Regions from separate parts of the Homo sapiens genome. Here all the other regions are linked to region 3. Evidence: promoter capture Hi-C in human tissues and cell types (Jung and others, 2019). All regions are on one chromosome and are shown on one strand. The core of a region is centred on a gene start or on the middle of the fragment in contact, and the rest is flanking DNA. Distances in the headings are between cores, read along the strand shown.

The links. The method cuts DNA at HindIII sites, captures the fragments that hold promoters and counts their contacts. A contact is called where the count stands out against the background at its distance.
Region 1: the fragment with the promoter of CDK12 here is called in contact with the fragment with the promoter of FBXO47 in region 3 in 3 of the 25 tissues and cell types used here (adrenal gland, heart left ventricle and mesendoderm cells).
Region 2: the fragment with the promoter of STAC2 here is called in contact with the fragment with the promoter of FBXO47 in region 3 in 10 of the 25 tissues and cell types used here (adrenal gland, dorsolateral prefrontal cortex, liver and 7 more).
Region 4: a fragment that was not itself captured here is called in contact with the fragment with the promoter of FBXO47 in region 3 in 2 of the 25 tissues and cell types used here (lymphoblastoid cells and small bowel).
Region 5: a contact is called between a fragment that was not itself captured here and the fragment with the promoter of FBXO47 in region 3, in 1 of the 25 tissues and cell types used here (liver).

What each region holds. Positions count from the first base shown.
Region 1 is chr17:39,460,201-39,462,900 of GRCh38, reverse strand. CDK12 (cyclin dependent kinase 12) reads right to left here and starts at 1,415. Exons shown (of 14, transcript NM_016507.4): 1 at 1-1,415. The coding sequence starts at 829. RefSeq lists enhancers at 634-763, 1-988, 1,154-1,213, 1,304-1,353, 714-1,638. The HindIII fragment of the contact is 12,986 bases long and covers 1-2,700 here.
Region 2 is chr17:39,224,578-39,227,277 of GRCh38, reverse strand. STAC2 (SH3 and cysteine rich domain 2) reads left to right here and starts at 1,333. Exons shown (of 11, transcript NM_198993.5): 1 at 1,333-1,865. The coding sequence starts at 1,776. RefSeq lists an enhancer at 1,575-2,075. The HindIII fragment of the contact is 22,351 bases long and covers 1-2,700 here.
Region 3 is chr17:38,966,007-38,968,706 of GRCh38, reverse strand. It overlaps FBXO47 (F-box protein 47), which reads left to right and starts at 1,304. Exons shown (of 11, transcript NM_001008777.3): 1 at 1,304-1,478. The HindIII fragment of the contact is 17,690 bases long and covers 1-2,700 here.
Region 4 is chr17:39,408,166-39,410,865 of GRCh38, reverse strand. It overlaps MED1 (mediator complex subunit 1), which reads left to right. Exons shown (of 17, transcript NM_004774.4): 17 at 145-2,700. Among named protein-coding and RNA genes, the nearest start is that of FBXL20, 7.9 kb to the right of the region's middle. The HindIII fragment of the contact is 5,074 bases long and covers 1-2,700 here.
Region 5 is chr17:39,429,156-39,431,855 of GRCh38, reverse strand. It overlaps MED1 (mediator complex subunit 1), which reads left to right. Exons shown (of 17, transcript NM_004774.4): 9 at 668-741. Among named protein-coding and RNA genes, the nearest start is that of MED1, 21 kb to the left of the region's middle. The HindIII fragment of the contact is 9,295 bases long and covers 1-2,700 here.

The sequences.
Region 1 (2,700 bases), core at 166-2,665, 490 kb before region 3:
GACTGACCGACTGCCTTCTCGAGGTACTTCCAGGACTTTTCTTGTAGGAGTCATAATTGCTCGAGGTATGAGATCGTGAGGGACTAAGGTCATAATCTTGGCCATAAGAAGCTCCCGAGGGGCTATCATCTTGTTTGGAGCTGTCAGACCACTTCCTGTGGGGGCTCCTGGATCTCCGTTTTGGGCTGTCCACTGTTTTGTAACTTTTGGGTGTTTCCCTTTTTCGATGACTTTTACTCCGGTCTTTGTGCCCAGACTTCAGCTCCCGTTCTTTCCTGGTCTTCTCCTTGTGGAGCTTGGATGACCTGGATTCCTTGCTGCTGCTTTTGGCTACCTGCGCCTTCCCATAGTCATCAGTCTCCTCATTCGAACGCTTTGAACTTCCCGATATCCGGTCCTTCATCGATCCCGACTTGCTGGAGACTTCTTGGCTTTTTTCTTTTTCGGTCTGTTTAGCTTTTAGTAAGTCCCGGGAACGCCTGTGCTGGTGGTGACGATGTTTGTGCAGGCGGTCGCTCCGATCTGATCCACGACGTTCGTCGTTCTCCCTTCGGTCTAGTTTGAAGGCCATGTCATCGGAGAAGGTGTCGGAATCAGAGCTGATATCATCATACTCCACCAAAGGTTTGATAACTGTGCCCAGGGATGCTGCTTCGGGGGTCACCAACCCCATGTCTTTGGAGTGTTTGGACTTATGCCGCTTGTGCTTCGATACCAAGCGGTGACGCTCTCTGCTGTTAGAGCTGCCGCCTCCCGATGACGGCTGCAAAGTTCCAGAAGCTCCTCCACTCCCGTCCTTCTTGCCCCCATGTCTCTCTGAATTGGGCATTCCCTTTCCCCTGACCTGAAGAAGGGAAAAAAGTTCCCCAGCACTCCAAAAAGCAACCCCCACCCACCCCCCCAACCCCAACTCCACGCCCACCAAAGCGCCCCGGGAAGGGGGTGGGGAGGGCAGGGACGGTAGCCCAGGCTCCTCCTCCCTCCCGACGCCTCAGCACCCTTCTACATGAGGTGGGGGGTGAAGGAGCGAGGGAAGAAATGAGAGTTCCTCGGCAGTGGAGTTGCGAGACAACGGGGAGCTGCTCAAGTCTGTTTCCTCTTCTCCCTCCGCCGAGCCAGTCCTCAGGCCCGGGCGCCGGGGAGGTCCAGGAAGTGAGAAGCCGACGGCCCGGGGCTGTGGAGCCGACTCCAGCTCTGGGGCCCTGCGAGGACTACGCGGGCCCTTCCCCTACCCGGTAGCCCGGTTCAGGACGGCTTCCTGTCGCCGGGGTGCCGCGGCCTAGGTGCCTCACGCCCCCTTTGTCCCTCGCTCCTGAGGTAGCCCCCTTTCTTGCCTCCGTTTCACCTCCACACCACACACACTCTCTCCCTCACACAGACCCAGTCACACACTAGATTAAACCGAAACGGCACTTGGGGAAGGGGGGAGGGGCAATCCCAGAAATCGTCGCGAGAGTCCAGTAGCCTCTCGCGATGTTTCGTGCTTCGCTTTCACCTCATTCCCCTGCTTATCAAACAACGCGAGATCAGGTCCCAAACTAGAAACGCGTTTCACCTGAGTCTCGCGATGAGCTCCCGGAGCTCCCCGTTTGAGCAAAGCTTTATTGAAACGGAACAAACCGAGTTTTTTTTTTTTAACCAAAACTTTATCGGTAACTGATTAAACAAACACTCCCAGGCTCCGTGACAAAATAATTTCAACATCCTTTTTAACAAATCTTTTAACTACCAGGATGACTTTTTTTTGTTTGTTTTTTGTTTTCCTTTGAGACGGAGTCTCGCTCTGTAGCCCATCCTGGAGTGTTAGTGGCGCGATCTCGGCTCACTGCAACCTCCACCTCCTGGGTTCAAGCGATTCTCCTGCCTCAGCCTCCCGAGTAGCTGGGATTACAGGCGCCCGCCACCACGCCCGGCTAACTTTTTTGTTTTTAGTAGAGACAGGGTTTCACCATGTTGGCCAGGCTGGTCTCGACCTCCTGACCTCAAGTGATCCTCCCGCCTCGGCCTCCCAAAGTGCTAGGATTACAGGCGTGAACCGCCGCGCCGGGCCATTTTTTTGTTTGTTTGAGACAAGTTCTCTCTCTTTTGCCCAGACTGGAGTGCAGTGGCACGATCTCGGCTCACTGCAGCCTCCACCTCCTGGGCTCAAGCAATCCTCCCACCTCATCCTGCCGAGTACTTGGAACTATAGAGTCGCGCCACCACGCCGTGCTAATTTGTTTCTATTATTCGTAGTGATGGGGTTTCGCCATGTTGCCCAGGCTAGTCTCGAACTCCTAGACTCAAGCAATCCGCGATCCTTGGTCTTGAACTCCTAGAATGAAGCAATCTGCCCGTCTGGTCCTCCCAAAGTGGCGGGATTACAGGCTTGAGCCACCGCGCCCGGTTGAGATTATTTTTTACAGAGCAAAAGACAAATGTCGGGACATTTCAACCCAAGTCCCTGAGTGTTTTAACAGTGCTTCCCACATATAGGGTGTGTGCTACCTGCCAAGAATTTTACATACATTATCTCTAATTTTCACAATTATCCTGCAAAACACGAGATTTTCATCCCTGTTTTATAGAAAAGGAATCCCAGCCTCAGGGAAGTTGAATAATTTGGTCCAACAAGTGCCACAGTCAACATTCAAATTCATGTCTTTCTGAGACTAAAACACAAGCTCTTCCATCCTATGGTGTTGTCTCCTTACCAATCTT
Region 2 (2,700 bases), core at 84-2,583, 260 kb before region 3:
CACTTTGGGAGGCTGAGGCAGGAGGGTCACTTGAGCCTAGGAGTTTAAGACTAGCCTGGGCAACATAGCGAGACTCCATCTCTACAAAAAATTTTAAAATTAGCTGGGTGCAGTGGCATGTGCCTGTGGTCCCAGCTACTTGGGAGGGTTGAGCCCAGGAGGTCCAGGCTACAGTGAGGTGTGATCAAGCCACTGCACTACAGCCTGGCCAATAGAGCAAGATCCTGTCTCCAAAAAAAAAAAAAAAAAAAAAAAAAAAAAAAGAAGAAGAAGAGAAGGAGAAGAAGAAATATTGGAAATATCTTGAACGGGCACAGTGGCTCACGCCTGTAATCCCAATACGTTGGGAGGCCAAAGTGAGAAGATCGCTTGAGCCCAGGAGTTGGAGATCATCCTGTGTAACATAGCAAGACTTGTCTCTACCAATAAATTTTAAAAATTAGCCAGGCATGGTGGCGTATGCCTGTGGTCCCAGCAACTAGAGAGGCTGAGGTGGGAGGATTGCTTGAGCCTAGGAGTTTGAGACTGCAGTGAGTTATGATCGCACCACTGCACTCCAGCCTGGGTGAAAGAGTGAAACCCTGTCTCTAAATAAAAAAATAAAAAAATAAAAAATAGAAGGTTATTGTGGAGAGAGGGGCACCTTGGAAGGTGATGGTGAGGACCTCTTCCCCCACCTCTCTGTATTATCCCCTGATCTAACTCCAGTTGTGGTAGGATCTTTAGGAGGGGAGCGTGTCTCAGAGAAGTTTGGGGACTTTGGGTGTGAGGACTGAGCCCCCATCTCTGCTGAAGTTCAGACGCCAAGACTGGAAGGGGATAGAGTCATCCGGCTTTCCATCACAAGGAGGAATTGTCCGGCCTGGCCTTTGACACATACACCATAGTCCAGTTGTGTGTATATTTGGAGAGAGCCTTTTCAGGGTATAAAGGCATCCAATTAATGGCACAGATGGGTCCCCATTCTTCCTTCACCAACCTCTGGCATCTATCAATCTTCGCTCTTTGGAAGTCCTAGCTTCGATCTCACTCTCCGCTATCTTGCTGCGGCCCCAACCTATTTCTATTCCCTGCAACCCATCCAGACGCTACTATGATCTCCCCAAGCTTCCCTCAATCTGGTCACGCCCCTCCATCCCGGGTTTTTCAGTGTGAAACTCCCTCCTCCGCTTCTTTCCCCGCCAAGCCCCGCCCCATCGTGTCGAGCCCCCCAAGACTCCGCCCAGTTCGCCCTCCTGGCCACCGAGGCAGCCAATAGCTGAGAGCCTGATTTGCAGGGCTGCGCGGGGGAGCGGCGTAGGGCAGGGGGCGGGACCAGGCGACCTCCTAAATCAAAGTTGGGCGGCGAGGACTGGGCGGAGGGGCCGCCGGGTGCCGGGCTGGGGCCGGCGGGGGAGGGGAGGGGATGGGGGGCGGGCGCAGCGGACGGCGGAGCCGGCTGGACACGGACAGCTCCTTGGCTCCCTCCCTCGGCTCATCCCCGCGGCCCCACTTCCCTCCTCCCCGCGCTGCGAGCAGCATCCTCTGCAGACCCTCGGTCCTCGCGCCCGGGGTCGTCCCGCTCCTGCGGCTCAGCGTGGTGGCCTCCCCTCGCCCGCCACCCCGGCAACTTTCTCTGCCCGCTCCCGCGGGTTGGGGGCTGCCGTGCCGGGGGCTAACTGGGGGCAGCCTCTGGAGAACGGCTTCAGAGTCCCGGAGACGCCCGCCACCCGCAGCCTGCCCGCGGTGGGCCTGCCGTCGGATCTCGGCACCCTCTCCTCCCCTCTCCCCGAACCATGACCGAGATGAGCGAGAAGGAGAACGAACCGGATGACGCGGCCACCCACAGCCCCCCAGGGACCGTCTCCGCCCTCCAGGAAACCAAGGTAACTTGGGGGGCGCAAGGCCTGTCCGCGCCCCGGGCCCGGGCGCCCTCTTCCCGGCGGGGTCCTCCTGTGGGCCCGGGCGTCCTAGGGTCGCGGTCGCGAGGCCCGCGTGACCACTGAGGCTCCGCGCCGCTCCCGGGGGTAGGAGTGGGTTGGCGACGAGGGGCCACAAGGAGCCCCCGATCACACCGGCACCGCACGCCCGCGCGCGCCATCGCGACCTTCTGGGGAGGCGGCCACTGGTCTTCGTTGGAGAGATGGGCGCAGCGAGGCCGGAGGGCGCGCGTGGAGCGGTGCGGGCGGGGTACGCGCCCGGCTGTGCGTGCGAGGCGCACCCTCCAGCGGCCGCCGGGTCCCAGTCCCGGGCTCAGTCCGCGCCTCTATCCTCGCTCGTGTCTCTGAATTTGTCTCTACAACCTGCGTGTCTGTGTCTTGGTGTCTCTGTGTGCGTCTCTCCCCGTCTCTCCCGGCGTCTCCGGGTGTTTATCTCCGCGTCTCAGGGCGTCTCTCCCTGCCCCTCCGCAGTCCTGCATTCCCCGCTCCTAGCCCTGTTGGGCTCGGGGACGCGAGGCCGCGGCCGGGGGTGCGCAGCTGCGGAGTCCGCGAGGGGGCCTGCAGCAGCGCCGGCCGTCGGTCACGGGCGAGGACGGGGGCCTGCGGTTGTGGCTCCAGACCAGAAAGACAGGCAGCCCCGCGCCCCACCACGGGAGCGGGACCAGAGGAGGGGGAGCGGGTAGAAGCAAAAAGAGAAGTCATCGTAATTAATGAATGTCATCATTAACCCTAATTATGGATGATTGTTACTCCTGAGGGAGTCACCATGAATAAATTACTC
Region 3 (2,700 bases), core at 55-2,554:
ACAAAGCCAAATGGATGAATATATGTGACTATATAAAATAACAGCATGCCAACTAATCCTAAATTTCCACTCAGTCTTTATGTAGTTCCTTATATATTTTGTGTTGGGTATAATGTAGAATTGATCTACAAAAGTAGAATCTTTCCCCCATTCCCTCTTCCCTCAGCCCTTCTCCTGACTGGCTCCTTCTCCTCCATCAGTTCTCAAATCGTCATATCAAAGGGACCTTGAGTATCAGTCTATCTAAAGTAGCTCTCCGCCAACACACACACACCCCATCATTCTGTCTTATTTCCTCTGTCACGCTGCTCTCACCGGAACTGCTCTCAACATCTGTAGATGCTCTGTCTGTTCATTCTATCTTCCCCATTAGGCTAATAAACTCCATTAAAGCAGGAAACGTATCTGTCTTGTTCTCTATTCCATCCTTAGGGCCTACTCCTGTGCCCGGCCCAGAGCAGGCTTCAATAAATAGTTACAGAATGAATGAAGAAATGAATGAATGAGAATTTAATCTTCTAGCCAGGAAGGCCTAGCTAGAAAGATTTGTCTTGATTTCATCTTGAGAGGATGGAGACACACATCTTCCTTTGATTCCAGACAGATTTATTATTTATGTGTTTATTTAGAGACCGGGAGCGGGGTTATGGCTGGGGGTGGGGGTCTCCCTATGTTGCCCAGGCTGGTCTCAAACTCCTGGACTCAAGGGAGCCTCCCGCCTCGGCCTCCCAAAGTGTTGGGATTACAGGCGTGAGCCACCGCACCGGCAAGACAAATTTAAAAAGGAATGTCTGGAGGTTTTTTTCCACCAAAAGGTTTGATGAAACCCCTTGTAACTTGCCCTACTGGAGTCAGTGGGGGTGGGAGGAACTCAAAAATTGTCTCAAAACTAGGTGAAGGGAAAGGCAGTGGAGCAGAGACGTGGCTCGCCACGTTCAGGATCTTGGGCTACACCCTCCCCTTCCCCACACCGTAACGGCTCCAGCCCCTTCTTGTCTTCAGCTTGGAGCGAAGGGTGGCTGAGGCCTGAGTTTGGGCTCCAGGAACCTCGCCCTTGTTAGTTATTCATGAGACGGAGGGCACCATGGGAGCTGGCTCTCTTGCTATTCATAAAGCGGGGAGGCGGGAGGCGGGGGGGAACCTCCTTCCCGCTAGGGCTTCTGGGAAGATCTACAATATTCATGAGGGAGGCGGGCACTACGAGAGCTGAGGCTGCTTGCTATTCATGAGGGGGCGGGCCTCCTTCCCGCGGGGGCTCTTGGGAAGATTCTACAATATTCTAGAGGCCGCGGGGACGCCTGGTGGGTAGGGCTGCAGCTCCGGAGCCTACGGGAGTGTGACCCTCTCGCCTCCTGGCGGGAAGCTCTTGAGGAGATATTTTCTTTTCTAAACACTAAGAAATTTGAGGATGGTGGGGCAAAACGACTAACTCCCACTTTCCTGTGACTCTGTAGCCGGAAAAACTGTCAAAATCTGTGGTAAAAGAGGGTTTTTTTTCCCAGTATTTTATTGCGATAATTTCATCTTTCATGGACTGAAGGGAGCGAAACATGTACCCCGTGTGGTCTGATTCTCCTGTTGACCAGTTTGTCCTTTAGGCTTCCCTAGTTTGCGGCTTTGGAGATGTTTGGGGGCAGCTGCCCGACAGATGGGGTGGGGCCCTTACAAGAGTTTTATGTTAAAACAGACATCCCTGTGAATGTAGTTTTTATCTTAAAGGTGTGGGGGGCGGGGAGGTTCATCCAATTGAACCCTCAAAACCTTTCACGCGCGGTCAAAATTAGTGGGATAGAACAGGGGGCATGAAACATCATTTTATTATTATTATTTGGGGCTGTGATTCTTATTCGCTAGAGGGGTGAGCGGAAACCAGAAATAATTTAGGATTATACCTTTAGAATTTTCACAAAAGCTTGCTTTTTCCCTACGAAACGTCCAGCTCTGAGTGAGGAAAATAAGGAACTATAAGTGGAGACTTGAGTTTTAGAAGAATTTGGGCTTATCATTTTTAAATTTTTGTTTATATTTATTTTAAACATGTATGTAGTTCACAGTTGACACAGTGAAGTCCCCGCCTGGTGACTGACAGTCTTTGAAGAGCCCACGGGCCCAAGCCCCACTGTCCACATTTCTCAGAGAAACAGGAAGAAGCCAAGGCCGGATTTATGCTATTGTAATAAAAATGCTTTAAAACACCTACTGTGTTGGCCGGGTGCGGTGGCTCACGCCTGTAAATCCCAGCACTTTGGGAGGCCGGGGCAGGCGGATCACGAGGTCAGGAAATCGAGACCAGGCTGGCTAACACGGTGAAACCCCGTCTCTACTAAAAATACAGAAATTAGCTGGGCGTGGGGGCGGGCACCTGTAATCCCAGCTACTAGGGAGGCTGAGGCAGGAGAATCGCTTGAACCCGGGAGGCGGAGCTTGCAGTGAGCCGAGATCGCGCCACTGCACTCCAGCCCAGGAGACTGTGCGAAACTCCATCGCAAACAAACAAACAAAACGCCTACTGTGAAAAGTTAAGGTTACAAACAGCCTTATGGATTAAACAAATTAAGATTATTTTACTTGGTGGAATGACACATAGCCATTAAAATATGATTACTTGTAGAAGGTTATTAGCATGGAAAGAGAATTCATTGAAAAAAGCAGATTACAAAGTATTATATATAGTGATCCCTCTTTTTTGTTAAAAAGAAA
Region 4 (2,700 bases), core at 107-2,606, 440 kb before region 3:
TATTTGATAGAACTATTTTTGTCTTACAGATTATTTGCCCTACCTGAAAACTGCTTACTGCAAAACTCTGATGTTATATCTAAATCTCAGGTCTCATTCAGCAGCTATTGCAATGTTAACTTTGTTTTCTTCTTTATTTTGCAGATGTATGTCCATCCCTGTGACGATGAGGGCTATTCGGAGGAAAGCTGAAACCATTCAAGCCGACACCCCAGCACTGTCCCTCATTGCAGAGACAGTTGAAGACATGGTGAAAAAGAACCTGCCCCCGGCTAGCAGCCCAGGGTATGGCATGACCACAGGCAACAACCCAATGAGTGGTACCACTACACCAACCAACACCTTTCCGGGGGGTCCCATTACCACCTTGTTTAATATGAGCATGAGCATCAAAGATCGGCATGAGTCGGTGGGCCATGGGGAGGACTTCAGCAAGGTGTCTCAGAACCCAATTCTTACCAGTTTGTTGCAAATCACAGGGAACGGGGGGTCTACCATTGGCTCGAGTCCGACCCCTCCTCATCACACGCCGCCACCTGTCTCTTCGATGGCCGGCAACACCAAGAACCACCCGATGCTCATGAACCTTCTTAAAGATAATCCTGCCCAGGATTTCTCAACCCTTTATGGAAGCAGCCCTTTAGAAAGGCAGAACTCCTCTTCCGGCTCACCCCGCATGGAAATATGCTCGGGGAGCAACAAGACCAAGAAAAAGAAGTCATCAAGATTACCACCTGAGAAACCAAAGCACCAGACTGAAGATGACTTTCAGAGGGAGCTATTTTCAATGGATGTTGACTCACAGAACCCTATCTTTGATGTCAACATGACAGCTGACACGCTGGATACGCCACACATCACTCCAGCTCCAAGCCAGTGTAGCACTCCCCCAACAACTTACCCACAACCAGTACCTCACCCCCAACCCAGTATTCAAAGGATGGTCCGACTATCCAGTTCAGACAGCATTGGCCCAGATGTAACTGACATCCTTTCAGACATTGCAGAAGAAGCTTCTAAACTTCCCAGCACTAGTGATGATTGCCCAGCCATTGGCACCCCTCTTCGAGATTCTTCAAGCTCTGGGCATTCTCAGAGTACCCTGTTTGACTCTGATGTCTTTCAAACTAACAATAATGAAAATCCATACACTGATCCAGCTGATCTTATTGCAGATGCTGCTGGAAGCCCCAGTAGTGACTCTCCTACCAATCATTTTTTTCATGATGGAGTAGATTTCAATCCTGATTTATTGAACAGCCAGAGCCAAAGTGGTTTTGGAGAAGAATATTTTGATGAAAGCAGCCAAAGTGGGGATAATGATGATTTCAAAGGATTTGCATCTCAGGCACTAAATACTTTGGGGGTGCCAATGCTTGGAGGTGATAATGGGGAGACCAAGTTTAAGGGCAATAACCAAGCCGACACAGTTGATTTCAGTATTATTTCAGTAGCCGGCAAAGCTTTAGCTCCTGCAGATCTTATGGAGCATCACAGTGGTAGTCAGGGTCCTTTACTGACCACTGGGGACTTAGGGAAAGAAAAGACTCAAAAGAGGGTAAAGGAAGGCAATGGCACCAGTAATAGTACTCTCTCGGGGCCCGGATTAGACAGCAAACCAGGGAAGCGCAGTCGGACCCCTTCTAATGATGGGAAAAGCAAAGATAAGCCTCCAAAGCGGAAGAAGGCAGACACTGAGGGAAAGTCTCCATCTCATAGTTCTTCTAACAGACCTTTTACCCCACCTACCAGTACAGGTGGATCTAAATCGCCAGGCAGTGCAGGAAGATCTCAGACTCCCCCAGGTGTTGCCACACCACCCATTCCCAAAATCACTATTCAGATTCCTAAGGGAACAGTGATGGTGGGCAAGCCTTCCTCTCACAGTCAGTATACCAGCAGTGGTTCTGTGTCTTCCTCAGGCAGCAAAAGCCACCATAGCCATTCTTCCTCCTCTTCCTCATCTGCTTCCACCTCAGGGAAGATGAAAAGCAGTAAATCAGAAGGTTCATCAAGTTCCAAGTTAAGTAGCAGTATGTATTCTAGCCAGGGGTCTTCTGGATCTAGCCAGTCCAAAAATTCATCCCAGTCTGGGGGGAAGCCAGGCTCCTCTCCCATAACCAAGCATGGACTGAGCAGTGGCTCTAGCAGCACCAAGATGAAACCTCAAGGAAAGCCATCATCACTTATGAATCCTTCTTTAAGTAAACCAAACATATCCCCTTCTCATTCAAGGCCACCTGGAGGCTCTGACAAGCTTGCCTCTCCAATGAAGCCTGTTCCTGGAACTCCTCCATCCTCTAAAGCCAAGTCCCCTATCAGTTCAGGTTCTGGTGGTTCTCATATGTCTGGAACTAGTTCAAGCTCTGGCATGAAGTCATCTTCAGGGTTAGGATCCTCAGGCTCGTTGTCCCAGAAAACTCCCCCATCATCTAATTCCTGTACGGCATCTTCCTCCTCCTTTTCCTCAAGTGGCTCTTCCATGTCATCCTCTCAGAACCAGCATGGGAGTTCTAAAGGAAAATCTCCCAGCAGAAACAAGAAGCCGTCCTTGACAGCTGTCATAGATAAACTGAAGCATGGGGTTGTCACCAGTGGCCCTGGGGGTGAAGACCCACTGGACGGCCAGATGGGGGTGAGCACAAATTCTTCCAGCCATCCTATGTCCTCCAAACATAACATGTCAGGAGGAGAGTTTCA
Region 5 (2,700 bases), core at 113-2,612, 460 kb before region 3:
GCCTGTATGATAATATGTCCTTTCTCTTCCAAAATGATGATTGTATTTGAACTTCTGAGTATCAGTATCGCTAAGTTGTTGGTTACCATAGGTTTTATCTCAAGACTCATCAGACCTGGAGTCCCATCTGAGAAATAATAGTCTAAGTGTAATTTTTGTTCACCATACTACATACTGGTGTGTACTTGGAAATAATCCCTTTACTTTGGAGGTGAAATACATTTGCTATATGCCCAATTACAAGACAGAACCATTATGATAGTATTATAAGACTTTGGGCTGGGCGCGGTGGCTCACGCCTGTAATCCCAGCACTTTGGGAGGCCGAGGCGGGCGGATCACCTGAGGTCACGAGTTCGAGACCAGCCTGCCCAATATGGTGAAACCCCGTCTCTACTAAAAATACAAAAAATTAGCTGGGCGTGGTGGCGGGCGCCTGTAATCCCAGCTACTCGGGAGGCTGAGGCAGGAGAATCACTGGAACCTGGGAAGCGGAGGTTGCGGTGAGCTGAGATTGTACCACTGCACTTCAGCCTGGGCGACAAGAGCGAAACTCCGTCTCAAAAAAAAAAAAAGACAAGACTTCGGAGAGGTGAACTCAATATCACAGTGTGTACCAAGACCATCAGGGATTAAATATAAGCAAACATAGATCACTTGTCTTACAGGAAAGCAACTAATGCTGGTCCCTTGGATAAGATTCTTCATGGAAGTGTTGGCTATCTCACACCAAGGAGTGGGGGTACGTGATCCTATTTTGCTTGTTTAGAAACATGTGTAATTTAAGTTGAGGGTCATTACTTTTCATTTCACCTTTAGTTTGTTTGTTTATTTTTTTGAGACAGAGTCTCACTTTGTTGCCCAGGCTGGAGTGCAGTGGCATGATCTCGGCTTACTGCTCCTTCCACCTCCTGGGCTCAAGTGAATCTCATGCCTCAGCCTCCTGAGTAGCTGGGATTACAGGTGTGCACCACAATAGCCAGCTAATTTATTCTATTGTTGGTAGAGACAGGGTTTCACTGTTTTGGCCAGGCTGGTCCTGAACTCCTCGCCTCGACTGATCGGCCTACCTTGGTCTCCCAAAGTGCTGGGATTACAGGCATGAGCCACTGCGCCCAGCCTATTTATTTGTTAATTTTTATTCTGTTTTTTTTTTTTTTTTTTAAGACGGAGTCTTGCTCTGTTGCCCAGGCTGGAGTACAGTGGCGCGATCTCAGCTCACTGCAAGCTCCGCCTCCCAGGTTCACGCCATTCTCCTGCCTCAGCCTCCAGGGTAGCTGGGACTACAGGCGCCCGCCACCACGCCTGGCTAATTTTTTTGTATTTTTTAGTGGAGACGGGGTTTCACAGCGTTAGCCAGGATGATCTCGATCTCCTGACCTCGTGATCTGCCCGCCTCAGCCTCCCAAAGTGCTGGGATTACAGGCATGAGCCACTGCGCCTGGCCAATTTTTATTCTTATGTATTTGTTTATTTTTCTTGAGACAGGCTCTCACCAGGCTGGAGTGCAGTGGCACAATCTTGGATCACTGTAACCTCTGCCTCCTGGGTTCAAGGGATTCTCCTGCCTCAGCCTCCCGAGTAGCTGGGATTACAGGCATGTGCCACCACACCCGACTAATTTTTGTATTTTTAGTAGAGATGGGGTTTCACCATGTTGGCCAGGCTGGTCTCAAATTCCTGACTTCAAGTGATCCTCCCTCCTCGGCTGCCCAAAGTGCTGGGATTACAAACAGGTATTAGCCACTGCACCAATCCCTATTTATTTATTTTTGAGACAGGGTCTTGCTGTGTTGCCCAGGCTGGAGTGCAGTCGTGCAATCATGACTCACTCCAGCCTCAACCTCCTGGGCCCAAATAATCCCCCTAACTCAGTTTCCTGAGTAGCTTGGACTACAGGTACAGGATACCATGCCTGGCTAATTTTTGTTGTTTTATAGAGACATGGTCTTACTATGTTGCCTAGGCTGGTCTTGAACTGGGATCAAGTGATCTTCCTGCCACTGCATTGCAAAGGGTTGGGATTATAAGCATAAGCCACTGCGCCCGGCCTCATCTTGGGGTTTATAAACATATAAGCAGAGGGAGAAAATTGCCAGATATTTGTGTATTTTGTGATGATTTCTTCCTTTTTTTTTTTTTTTTTTTTTTTTTAGGCATTTAGGCAGAGTCTTGCTCTGTCTCCCAGGCTGGAGTGCAGTGGCGCGATCTTGGCTCATTGCAACCTCTGCATCCTGGGTTCCAGCAATTCTCTTGCCTCAGCCTCCCATGTAGCTGGGATTACAGGCACGTGCCACCGTGCCCAGCTAATTTTTGTATTTTTACCAGAGACAGGGTTTCACCATGTTGGCCAGGCTGGTCTCGAACTCCTGACCCTAGGTGAGCTGCCTGTCTCGGCCTCCCAAAGTGCTGGGATTATAGGCGTGAGCCACTGCGCCTGGGCTTTTTGCGATGATTTCTAAGCTGTCAATACCTGTCCTCCCCATTTTTGTTTGTTATCTTTTTGAGACAGAGCCTTGCTATGTCCCTCTGGCTGAAGTACAGTGGCAGAAACATAGCTCACTTCAGCCCTTAACTCTTGGGCTTAAGTGATCTTCCCACCTCAGCCCCCTGAGTAGCTAGGACTTCAGTCAAGTGCCACCATGCCTGGGTAACTTTAACAATTTTTTTAGAGATGGGGGTCTCACTGTGTTGCCTAGGC